2 separate regions of the Homo sapiens genome follow, and region 1 is linked to region 2. The links are contacts of gene promoters, found by promoter capture Hi-C in human tissues and cell types (Jung and others, 2019). All regions are on one chromosome and are shown on one strand. The core of a region is centred on a gene start or on the middle of the fragment in contact, and the rest is flanking DNA. Distances in the headings are between cores, read along the strand shown.

Region 1 (5,577 bases), core at 151-2,650, 1.2 Mb before region 2:
CAAATCATGTATTTTTCTGGTGCAAATGTGGGTGAATTACCATATATCATAAAAATATTTGTTTCTTTTGTTTTTTTTTTGAGACAGGATTTCACTCTGTCACCCAGGCTAGAGTGCAGTGCCGTAATCTTGGCTCACGGCAACCTCTGACTCCTGGATTCAAGCGATTCTCGTGCCTCTGCTTCTCGAGTAGCTGGGACTACAGGTGCGTGCCACCATGCCCAGCTCATTTTTTGGGGTTTTTAGTAGAGACAGGGTTTCACCATATTGGCCAGGCTGGTCTCGAACTCCTGACCTCAAACAATCTTCCTGCCTCGGCCTGCCAAAGTGCTGGGATTACAGGTGTGAGCCACAGCGCCTGGCCCCAAATATTTCTTAATCTTCCACTGTGATTTGCATGATATTCTTAGCTAAGTGATTTTTTAAAACTAAGGCCACTTCTCCCACTAATGTTCCATGGTCTATTAACACATAGTAGTAGATTATTTTACAAAGAGTCAACAAAACAAATTACCAATCAGCTCTTCAAATTCTTCATCATCCACGTCTTCTATACTTTCTTCATCTGCATCCCGTTTTTGTTTCTCTTTAACAGCAACTTTTTTATAATACCTATAATATTCATGTTATATATTTGACAATTTTATTAAAGGTCTAATCTTACTATATATCATCAAAGCACCTATGACCAGTGGCAAACCACAACTGTAAAATCTTAAGTATACTCAATTGGAAATAAATGACTGAAATTTGTATCTAATATACAAAAAATAGTTTAACTCAATAAAAAGTAGCTGGAATCTTTTAAGTGTAATACATTTCAAAGATAATATTTTATCAGCCCTATTCTTATATTAGAATACAGCAAAACTTAGCCATTTACAGATGTAATCAAACCCTCAAAATTATTCATTCTAAATGATTTTAAAAAACAAGCCAAATCAAACCTAATTAACCAGTCAACCAGATGAGATAAGAGGTACTTTACTACCCTAAGGCATTAGGTTATGATACTAGTTGGTTTAGGACTTATTTCTATAACAGTGCACTGAATCCATTCTAAGGGCCATGGTCTGGATAAATTACCCATGAGTTATCACTATATTAAACTTAAAGTATTATATTAAAATCTATATTAAAGGTAGATTTTAAGCCTATAAAGAAAATTATTATAAAAGGAAATTAAAGGCTAAATTCCAAAAAGAAGCATAAAACAAAATTTATATGCTAAATTAACAAAACTCCCAAATTTACTTTAGTTTTACTAAGATATATTAAGATTAGCAAAATGACGGATTTGTAAATTTTCTTAACAAACACAGACATATCCTTTGATCTTTTCAAAATATGCTGATTAGATTTCATAAAATGAAGCATTTAAAACTAAGGCCACTTCTCCCACTAATGTTCCATGGTCTATTTACACACAGTAGTAGATTATTGAAGTAGATTATTTCATAAAATGAAGCATTTTATGAAATCTAAAAATTTAAATTTTAGCAGTTTCCCCAAATGAAACTATATTATGTATAGTACCTGTGGAAAAACACTTCATCCACTGGTATTTGGCTTTCTTCTTTTGCAAGGAACTCCTTACTGTTCACTACAAAAATAAATTTAAACATTTTAACTTCATATAGCAATCCCCTTTATGTTACTCAAGCTCTTAAGACAAAATACAGCATAATCTGTAATTCTAAAAATCTCAGAATTGTGTGGGAAGGTAGACAGAAGGGACTCTGGAGTGCAAGGGACAATCTCTGAAAAAGTCTGTGTGAAGACCCCCCCAACATTTGAAACTTCACTGGCTACAGCATAAAGTAGGCAGTACATAGCTGTCAGTGCCGTTACAGTGAAACAACAGGGTTCTCTTACTGTTCTTCATTTGCATCCAGGACCCAACTTTCAAGAGAAATAAAAAATTCAAAGAGTTATTTTAATAAATAATCACTTTAAACTTGTCATTTTCAGCTCAAAAAATGACAAGCTTGCCATTAATGCGTGCCATTCTGGGAATAAACAGGAAGTTAACAGAGTTTTCCTTTATACTGAGGAAAACTAAGAAATAAGGAACTACAAGAAATCAGTTTTACCTCTTCAGAATAAAAATTGCTGACTCATCCTGAGTAAAAGGAGATTTGGCTTTTAATTCTAACTTACTAACTGTGGGTAAGTCCTTTTACATCTCTGGACCTCTGTGAAGTAAGTCACTGGAAATTAAATGATCTATAAGGTCTAATTTAATCCTGGTCTCTGAACAAAAGGGAGATGAGATCTGGTATGCAAAGAAATGTCTGCTTTGAATACAACAACAGACTCAGATCCAGAAGATGGCTAGCAAATATAGAAGTAGGTTATTAAGTTTAAAATGATGCTCTGTGACAAAACCAGCTGTGGGTTTTTGTGCTGCTAAGCTGATATTAGAGAGCTTTAAGATGGTCTGAATTGTAAGCAATAATAATTATATACATAGGGGTTGTGGATGAAGCTACGGATGATAAAATGGTGACAACTGTCAAAGCTGGGTGATGGTAATGGGGAGGGGGTTCATCATACTATTTTGTTTATTTTGGATATGTTTCAAATTTGCTGTAATAAAGTTAAAAAAAAAAAAAAAAAGGCCCAGTCAGATACAGTAGATTTAAGAATACCTATTCTTGGGAAAAAAGATGGATAATGTCTTTGATGCTCAGGTTTTATTCTGATAAATTAGAACAAAGAATAATACAATTTATGCATCTTTGTCTTATATTGTCTTTTCAGTTTCAACTGTCTAAGGTTTATACTTACCAGGAAGATGACGAATATCCTTAATAAAATGTTTTCTTTTCGGCTGCATCACAACACTATCTGTGTTTTCTGAAATGTAAAATTATGACAGTATAATGCAAAACCTAGTTATAAGCTCATATTGTTTATTATGTATTAAAAATGAAAGCCAAATAATTCACTAAATAGAAGCATACCTTTGCCTTTATGGGGCTTTGGATTTCGGTATACAAATCGATCCAAAAATCTCATTAGAGTGAAATCCTGCAGTGGGTCCCCTGAATACTGAATATAGTTTCCCTGAAAAGTGGAGCGGGGATTTAAAAACTTAATTCAAATTATGTCTATGAATCCAAGTAAGAAAAAGGAAGAAAAAGATAATTTCTATTACACTGTATTGAAGATACAAATATGCAATAAATGACTCTTCAAATATCTCTCTCATGCACATTATACTTAAAAAATTAAACACACAGATACATATACATACATATTCTAGGATGTAATGTTGATTTGATGGATAGACTAATATTAATAATGCAGGCCATCTAACCATTAATCAGGAACCAAACCCTGAAGTGGCAAACACAGCAAATGGGAAAGTGAGGCAGTATTTCTCCAGGAGAGGAGCTAGAAGGTAATAAATAAATAACTGCGTGGCTTTCAATGTCTTATTGCTTCCACTCATCTCAGAGTGGGAAAAGTTATCTGCTACTCTGTATGAAACAAGTCACTGCTTCTTTATACGAGCAGTAAAATGTACAAGATTCTCTCTGTTAGAGAAAACACTGTATGACCAATTATTGATTATCTAAAATGATACTTTTTTTCTTATTTCTCATCTTTGGATTTATTTTAGACTCACCTGAAGGATGGTCTTTGCAAAAAGGGCCACGGAGGGATGAAAATGCACAGATAACTAAAAAGAAAAATGTGAATAATATCAATATTTCTAAGGTCGACTCTTAGTACATTTATAGCTTATTTAAGAAAATCGGGCTGGGTGTGGTGGCTCACACCTGTAATTCCAGCACTTTGGGAGGCTCAGGCAGGCAGATTGCTTGAGCCCAGAAGTTGAGACTGGCCTGGGCAATATGGCGAAACCCCATGTCTACAAAAAGTACAAAAATAGTCAGGGTGTGATGGTGCGCGCGTGCCTGTACTCCCAGCTACTCAGGAGGCTAAAGTGGGAGGACTGCCTGGGCCCAGGAGGTCGAGGCTGCAGTGAGCTGACATGGCACCACTGCACTCCAGCCTGGGTGACAGAGTGAGACCCTATTTCAACAACAACAAAAATGAAAATGCAAAAATTTGAAATTTAAGCCAATACATTAAAAAAGTGATTCTCAAAACATATTGGTCTCAGGACCATTTCCTACACTTAAAAACCAAAAATTCCATCAGTTTCTATTCAACAGGTTTATATCTACAGACACCTATGTTATAAAAATAAACAGAAAAATTGTAAATACTTATAGGTCCATTAAAAATAACAATAAAGCGGCCAGGCGCGGTGGCTCATGCCTGTAATCCCAGCACCTTGGGAGGCTGAGGTGGGCGGATCACGAGGTCAGGAGATCGAGACCATCCTGGCTAACATGGTGAAACCCCATCTCTACTAAAAATACAAAAAATTAGCCGGGCGTGGTGGCGGGTGCCTGTAGTCCCAGCTACTCGGGAGGCTGAGGCAGGAGAATGGTGTGAACCTGGGAGGCGGAACTTGGAGTGAGCCGAGATCGCGCCACTGCACTCTGGCCTAGGCAACAGAGCAAGACTCTGTCTCAAAAAAAAAAAACAAAAAACAAAAACAAAAACCATAAAGCTACTACATACTAGTAAGTAGCATATTTATGAAAAATAATTATGCAGCCAGGCGAGGTGGCTCATGCCTGTAATCCCAGCATTTTGGGAGGCCGAGGCGGGCGGATCACGAGGTCAGGAGATCGAGACCATCCTGGCTAACACGGTGAAACCCCGTCTCTACTAAAAATACAAAAAATTAGCCAGGCGTGGCGGTGTGCGCCTGTAGTCTCAGCTACTCGGGAGGCTGAGGCAGGAGGATGGTGTGAACCCGGGAGGCGGAGCTTGCAGTGAGCTGAGATCGCACCACCGCACTCCAGCCTGGGCGACAGAGCAAGACTCTGCCTCAAAAAAAAAAAGAAAAAAGAAAAAAAGAAAAATAATTATGCTTCAGGACGAAATATATAGCGAGTAGTATTACTTTACAGTTTTGCAAATCTCTTTAATGTCTGGCTTAACAGAAGAGAGTGGATTATTTCATCTGCTTCTGTATTCCACGTTGAAACATACAATCTGGCCTCATGTGTAGAAAATAGTCTTTCACATAGCTGTGAATTTTCTTCTTTAGTACTATACCAAAACCAAAGATTAGTTGTAATATGGAATCTGAAACCCATATTCAATTGGCTTTTGGTACTTGCTACTTAAAATTATTTGGTCTACTTTGAATCAATCATTTATTCACTCAAGAATTTGTAACATTCAGGTGGCACAGTGGCTCATGCCTGTAATCCCAGCACTTTGGGAGGCTGAGGTAGGTGGATCACCTGAAGTCAGGAGTTCGAGACCAGCCTGGACAACATGGCAAAACACTGTCTGTGCTAAAAATAAAAAAATTAGCTGGGCATGGTGGCATGCTCCTGTAATCCCAGCTACTCAGGAGGTAGAGGTTGCAGTGAGCCGAGATCGCGCCACTGCATTCCAGTATGGGTGACAGAACCTTCTCGTTTCAAAAAAAAGAATTTGTAACATTGTGCATTGGTCATTGGAAAAATACCATATGCAGTC
Region 2 (5,432 bases), core at 1,223-3,722:
AACAATTTCAAGAAAGTTACTTATACTTGTGAATATTCCAAAACTTTAAAGTTACAATACAGTCACAGAAAAACGAATCCTGAAATACACCTATGTGCACTCGACTTAAGGCCATAATCTTATTTTCACTCAGGGTTTCTTTTCCCTATAATATCTTTACTGTAAGGCAGCTACTTCTCCCTAAATAATTTCGAAGAATTTCAAAACACTTTACTAAATAGATTTAATCATATCTACAGAATCCTATCAACTTAAAAAGCCAATAAAATGAGTACTTATTTGCTTTCTAAAGATCCTACATTCCTAAAAGAATAAACACAAAGCCTCTCCCTAACACTAAACTACTCAAGTGACACTTGACCCCAACTTGGTTTTTGAAGCTATTTCTCCAGGAAGCAGAGGGAGACAAAGAGTTTCTACACAGTCAAAAATAGATGAGTCCTTTTCATTCAGTCTGTTTCTTCTCACTTTAAACACAAATCCTACCAAGCTCATTTAGTTTTTAACTCATTAATGAGTGACTCGGAGCAAATTAGCAGGTACAGGGACTGTTTTAGGCAATCATTTGCTAGGAATGGCTATCAAGTGAAGGTCTTGCTGATCCGTCCTAAAAAACAAAGGACAAAAACCTATGAGTAGCAGACAAAAGCATTTATTAAATAATAAATGGTGGGCCCTATTTCAACAACAATCTGAAGAGTATCATCTCTTCTCAAGATACCACAGCACAACAACGTTCACAACCATAACTGAAGTATAAATTTATGTTTCTTCTAATAAGGTAAATACATAGAATATTTTGAAACTGCATCTAAAACTCTTACCTCAAAAAAAGGAAAGAAAGAAAGAGAAAGAAAGAAAAGAACACACACTTCTTCCCCTAGGGTCCAACCAAAAGAGCGAAATTAATCCATCCGCATTCCAAAACAATTAATTACTTAAGAAATCCAACCAGCACACATCTAAGGCGAAGCTGCTTCTTTGGTAGTTTTTTATTCTACAGAGTGCTACCACTGTACAAACAGTCAAGCGTTTTGGTTGGCAGACAATAATAAAATAAGCTTTATTTCCTTTTCTTCTTCCCTTAGCAAAACTCCAGTCTGTCATCACCTCTGACATGCGCCAAGAACTACCAGGAATGATGAAGTATATTTCAAATAAACTTTCCTATTAAAGTGAGTCCTTGTGGTTAACATCATACCAAAATGCTTTACATTTTATCCAGCAAAACCTTTACACACCGTAAAAAAAGAAATCTTAAGACACGAGCTCGTATCTGTATTTAATAATAAACTCTTATCTTGGCCGTACTTACCAAATCGTAGGCTTTTACTATTTATAAGCCTTTGAAAAAACTTTATGCCTTTCTTAAGTACCATCAAAATTTTCAATCAGGATTTCATGCGATCAATTCGCACCACAGTGAGAGATCAAACGCTAAACTCCTATAAATAGGGGTGTTATGAGTGAGAGGGATACACTGCGCTGCCAACGCAACTGCGTCTTCGAGGGGGCAGGGGCGCTCCTGGTACACGTACAGTAGGAGCTCACATTCAGCAAAACCAGGGAGCCAAGGATCAGGTGACTTCACACTACAGACACTTTCAGAGTGATCAGGCCTTACTATCGTCCAAGTGACTCGTAAACGGCTCATAACCCCAGTTTGACACGAAAATCTAGACTTGCACCCTAGCCACGCACAACCCGCGCGAATGGGTTCGGGAGCCGAGGAGCCCCGAAACGCGAGCCCGGGGACAGAGCCCTGGCCTGCGGACTGCGGTTCCCTCCAGGAAGGGTGTCTAAGGAGCTTTCGGACCCGGCAGCAAGGTGTCTGCTCCCCGCGCGACCTCCTCCTCCGCGGGGCCCATCATGCCCTGGCCACCCCTTCCTCCCTGTCCGCGTAAGGGACAGCGAACGCCCACCAGCTAACGGGTCGCCCCGCCGCGTCCGGAGCTCGCCGGACGGAGCGGAGCCGCAGCCGACCTCCCCGCGCCCCGGGCAGGCGGCCACGGCTCAAGGCCGCCCCCTAAGGTCGGGGCGGACACGGCGGCAGCCACGCGGCGGGCTGGCGGGCAGGGGGCCGGGCCGGTCGCAGACGCGCGCGCCACTGGTTCTCCCAGCAGCTACTGGAGCCGCGGCCCACGAGCCGCCCTTTCAGGCCGCGCGCTGCGGGAGCGCGGGGCGCGGCTGAGGCTAGGCCCGGCGGGCAGGCGCGGCGGCGGGAGGAGACCTGAACCAGCCGCGGACTCCGACCCCGCCGCCTGCGGCCGGTGCCCGCGAGCCCGAGCAGCGAGCGTCTCTCCCCATCAGGGCCCCGCGGCCTCTGCCTCGCTGGCCCGTACCTAGGGAGGTCGTGGACGAGACGTGGTTAACCGCGGCGCTTGGGTCGCTGGTCCGTCGCCGGCGCCACAGCCCCTGGTGCGGTTGCTGCCCTCGCGCTGCCTCGTCCCCCTCCGCCATCTTGTACCGATTTAAAATTAACTCCCCACTGACGTCAAACGCCGCCGCCGCTTTATCAACCTCCCGGGAGCCGGCGGGGTGGCCGGCGGGTCCTAGCGCCGCTCTCCGCCTGTATCTCCTCGCCCTCCGCCTGTATCTCCTCGCCCTCCGCCTGTATCTCCTCGCCCTCCCTCCGCCCCCGCCCCGCCCATCGCTCGCTCGCTCCGCCCTCGCCCTGCCCGCCTGCAGATCCGTCTCCCCGGCTCCAAGTTTCTGGTTGGACTGGGGCGGGGGTGTCCCTGCCGCCGCCGTCTCACACCCCCACCTCCCTGAGCTCAGCACCACACCCCCTTAGCGCTGGGCCAGGCTCTGCAAACGCAGAAGGGAGCTCCAGAGAACTAAGTCCCTCCCTCCCAATTCGCTTTACATCTCTAATCGTTGATTCGTGCGTCCTGCACGTGAGGTGGCTTTCGCACCCCTTCTCTCCTTTTCATCGCCCCCTCCTCATCACAGCCATTCCCCTCCTCTCTCCCCATCCACCCCCCAAGTTGTTGCCAGTGCCCTGCTTTTCCTCTTGATCTTTTCTTTCCTCACCCAAGTCCCTACTGTTGCTTCCCCTCCCCCCCACCATCCTAAGGTTTGTTTGCATTCGCTCCCCATCTACTTATGAGACCTTCCCCCATCTTCTCAACTGTGTATACCCTGGCCCTGTGCTCCTAGCACCTTGCAGAGGCATGCCAGAAAGCACTCTAATCGGAAAATGAATCGTGGCAGGTTCTTACCTAATTGTGATGAACCTTCTTCTGGGGATCCAGTGACATCCAGTAGAAAGTTCAGGTCACTTTTTAAATTACAAGTCAGCCCGTGGAGGCGTCTGTGAAACATGATCCCTTTGGATTTTTACCATACTGCCAGCTGCATTAGAAATTCCTCTTCTCCAGTAAAAACAGATGTCCGGGTGTACAAACAGCTGTTTTGTCCAGGTCTTTTCATAAGTCTAAAATTCACAGCATGCACAATCTCTAGAAAAGCACTGGTGTTATTAAAGCTTTCAAAATACCATTCTAGGTAGGGCATGGTGGCTCACGCCTCCCGGGTTCAAGCAATTCTCTGCCTCAGCCTCCGGAGTAGCTGGGATTACAGTCCCCCGCCACCACACCCTGCTAATTTTTGTATTTTTATAGACACGGGATTTCACCATCTTGGCCAGGCTGGTCTTGAGCTACTGACCTCGTGATCCACCCGCCTCAGCCTCCCAAAGTGCTGGGATTACAGGCGTGAGCCACTGCGCCCGGCCCATCCAAATATATTTCAACAGAATATGGAGTTTGTCATCATTGTCACATAAATCTAGGAGAATAACTATATACGTGTTCTTGGCAATATTCTTTGAGTTACTAAGATTCTAGTTCTGGGACTTGAACCACCTCCACAATCTAAAGTACAGTTACCCTTCCCCCTCGTTCATATTGATGGCAGGATCTTTATCAACTTGTTAAGTGATATTCCTCTTACGTCCTTGTGATATATGATTTGGAGAGCTCACTTTGTCAAGACATTTTCTGTTTTATCATTGGCCTGAAAAACGTAGTATTGAAAAGGAAGAAAAAGAAGAAGCAGAAGCAGAAGAAGGAGGAGGAGGAGGAGAAGAAGGGCAAAAAAATCTTCACGAGGATTGTTCTACAAAGATTTATTTACTGTCATTTACTCACTAAAAAACATTTGCTTAGGCACATAGAAAAAAGAAACCATTTACAAACAGCACAGCATAGGCCATTTGCTAAATTAAGGTTGATACAGTCAGTGACAACAAAAAGCTACCTGAATCCTTACCAAAGTGCAGTGTTCACCTAAGCCAAATCACCCTCTATGCTTAGTATAGGCAGTCCTTTGGAAGATATTGAATATCTTACATGTAATAAAAGACCTTATGGTTTCCCTCACTGTGCCTTCGATTTTAAGGACTTCAATTCTATCTACTAATCTAGGCTGCTACCCCATGTGTTTCGTGTTTTGCTTTGCTTTTCTCTTTTCTTTTCTTTTTTTTTTCCTTGCCTATGTTCTTCTCTTTTTGGTGTTCTGCCTATCTTGGCTCCCAAACCCACTCTCTCCCCCATCTGTGGTTACTATGCCTGAATCAAGAGAGGTCAAACGCTTATTTAAAAAAAAAAAAAAAAGGCTGGGTGTGGTGGCTCATGCCTGTAATCCCAGCACTTTGGGAGGCCGAGGTGGGGCGATCACCTGAGGTCAGCAGTTCAAGACTAGCCTGGCCAACATGGTGAAACCCCATCTCCACAAAAATACCAAAATTAACTTGGCATGATGGCGGGTGCCTGTAATCCCAGCTACTCGGGAGGCTGAGGTGGGAGAATCACTTGAACCTGGGAGGTGGAGGTTGCCGTGAGCTGAGATCGTGCCATTGCACTCCAGCCTGGATGACAGCGTGAGACTCCATCTCAAAAAAAAAAAAAAATAGGCTGACCCTGGGTACACTGCCTGTGAGTTAGCCCTACTCCGCAAGGAGCAATACCATTCAAAAAAGACTGCTGCTTAACACCACCAGCTCAAAAAAAAAAAGAATTAATTAATTAATTTTTTGCTGTCCGGAAAAAAGTCAGTGATTCCTAAGGAAAATTTTTCCTTGCCACCTCTCAGGGAGACATTCCGTCTTATAACTCTTCTATGGGAAAGCACGGGGTACTGAGAATATGAGAACTGACAAGAACTTGCCCTACAATCATTTTAACCTTCATGGAGATGGTGTAAGATAGAAGGAATGGGCCAGGCGCGGTGGCTCATGCCTATAGTCCCAGCACTTTGGGAGGCCAAGGTGGGTGGATCCCTTGAGCTAAGGAGTTTGACACCAACCTGGGCAACATAATGAGAGCCTGTCTCTACAAAAAATACGAAAATTAGCCAGGCACGCACCTGTAGTCCCAGCTATGGAGGAGGCCAAAGTGGGAGGATTGCTTGAGCCCATGAGGTCGAGGCTG

The links. Contacts are between HindIII fragments. The study calls those that stand out against the background at their distance.
Region 1: a contact is called between a fragment that was not itself captured here and the fragment with the promoter of ATL2 in region 2, in 1 of the 25 tissues and cell types used here (aorta).

The regions. Positions count from the first base shown.
Region 1 is chr2:37,213,350-37,218,926 of GRCh38, forward strand. CEBPZ (CCAAT enhancer binding protein zeta) reads right to left here. Exons shown (of 16, transcript NM_005760.3): 6 at 3,635-3,688; 7 at 2,967-3,069; 8 at 2,791-2,859; 9 at 1,537-1,603; 10 at 515-612. It also overlaps a transcript of CEBPZOS not described here. Among named protein-coding and RNA genes, the nearest start is that of CEBPZ, 15 kb to the right of the region's middle. RefSeq lists an enhancer at 1,371-2,570. The HindIII fragment of the contact is 4,916 bases long and covers 1-3,858 here.
Region 2 is chr2:38,374,801-38,380,232 of GRCh38, forward strand. ATL2 (atlastin GTPase 2) reads right to left here and starts at 2,473. Exons shown (of 13, transcript NM_001135673.4): 1 at 2,343-2,473. The coding sequence starts at 2,460. RefSeq lists enhancers at 1,565-2,066, 2,067-2,566, 2,393-2,642 and silencers at 1,893-2,392, 2,613-2,772, 2,843-2,892. The HindIII fragment of the contact is 9,835 bases long and covers 1-5,432 here.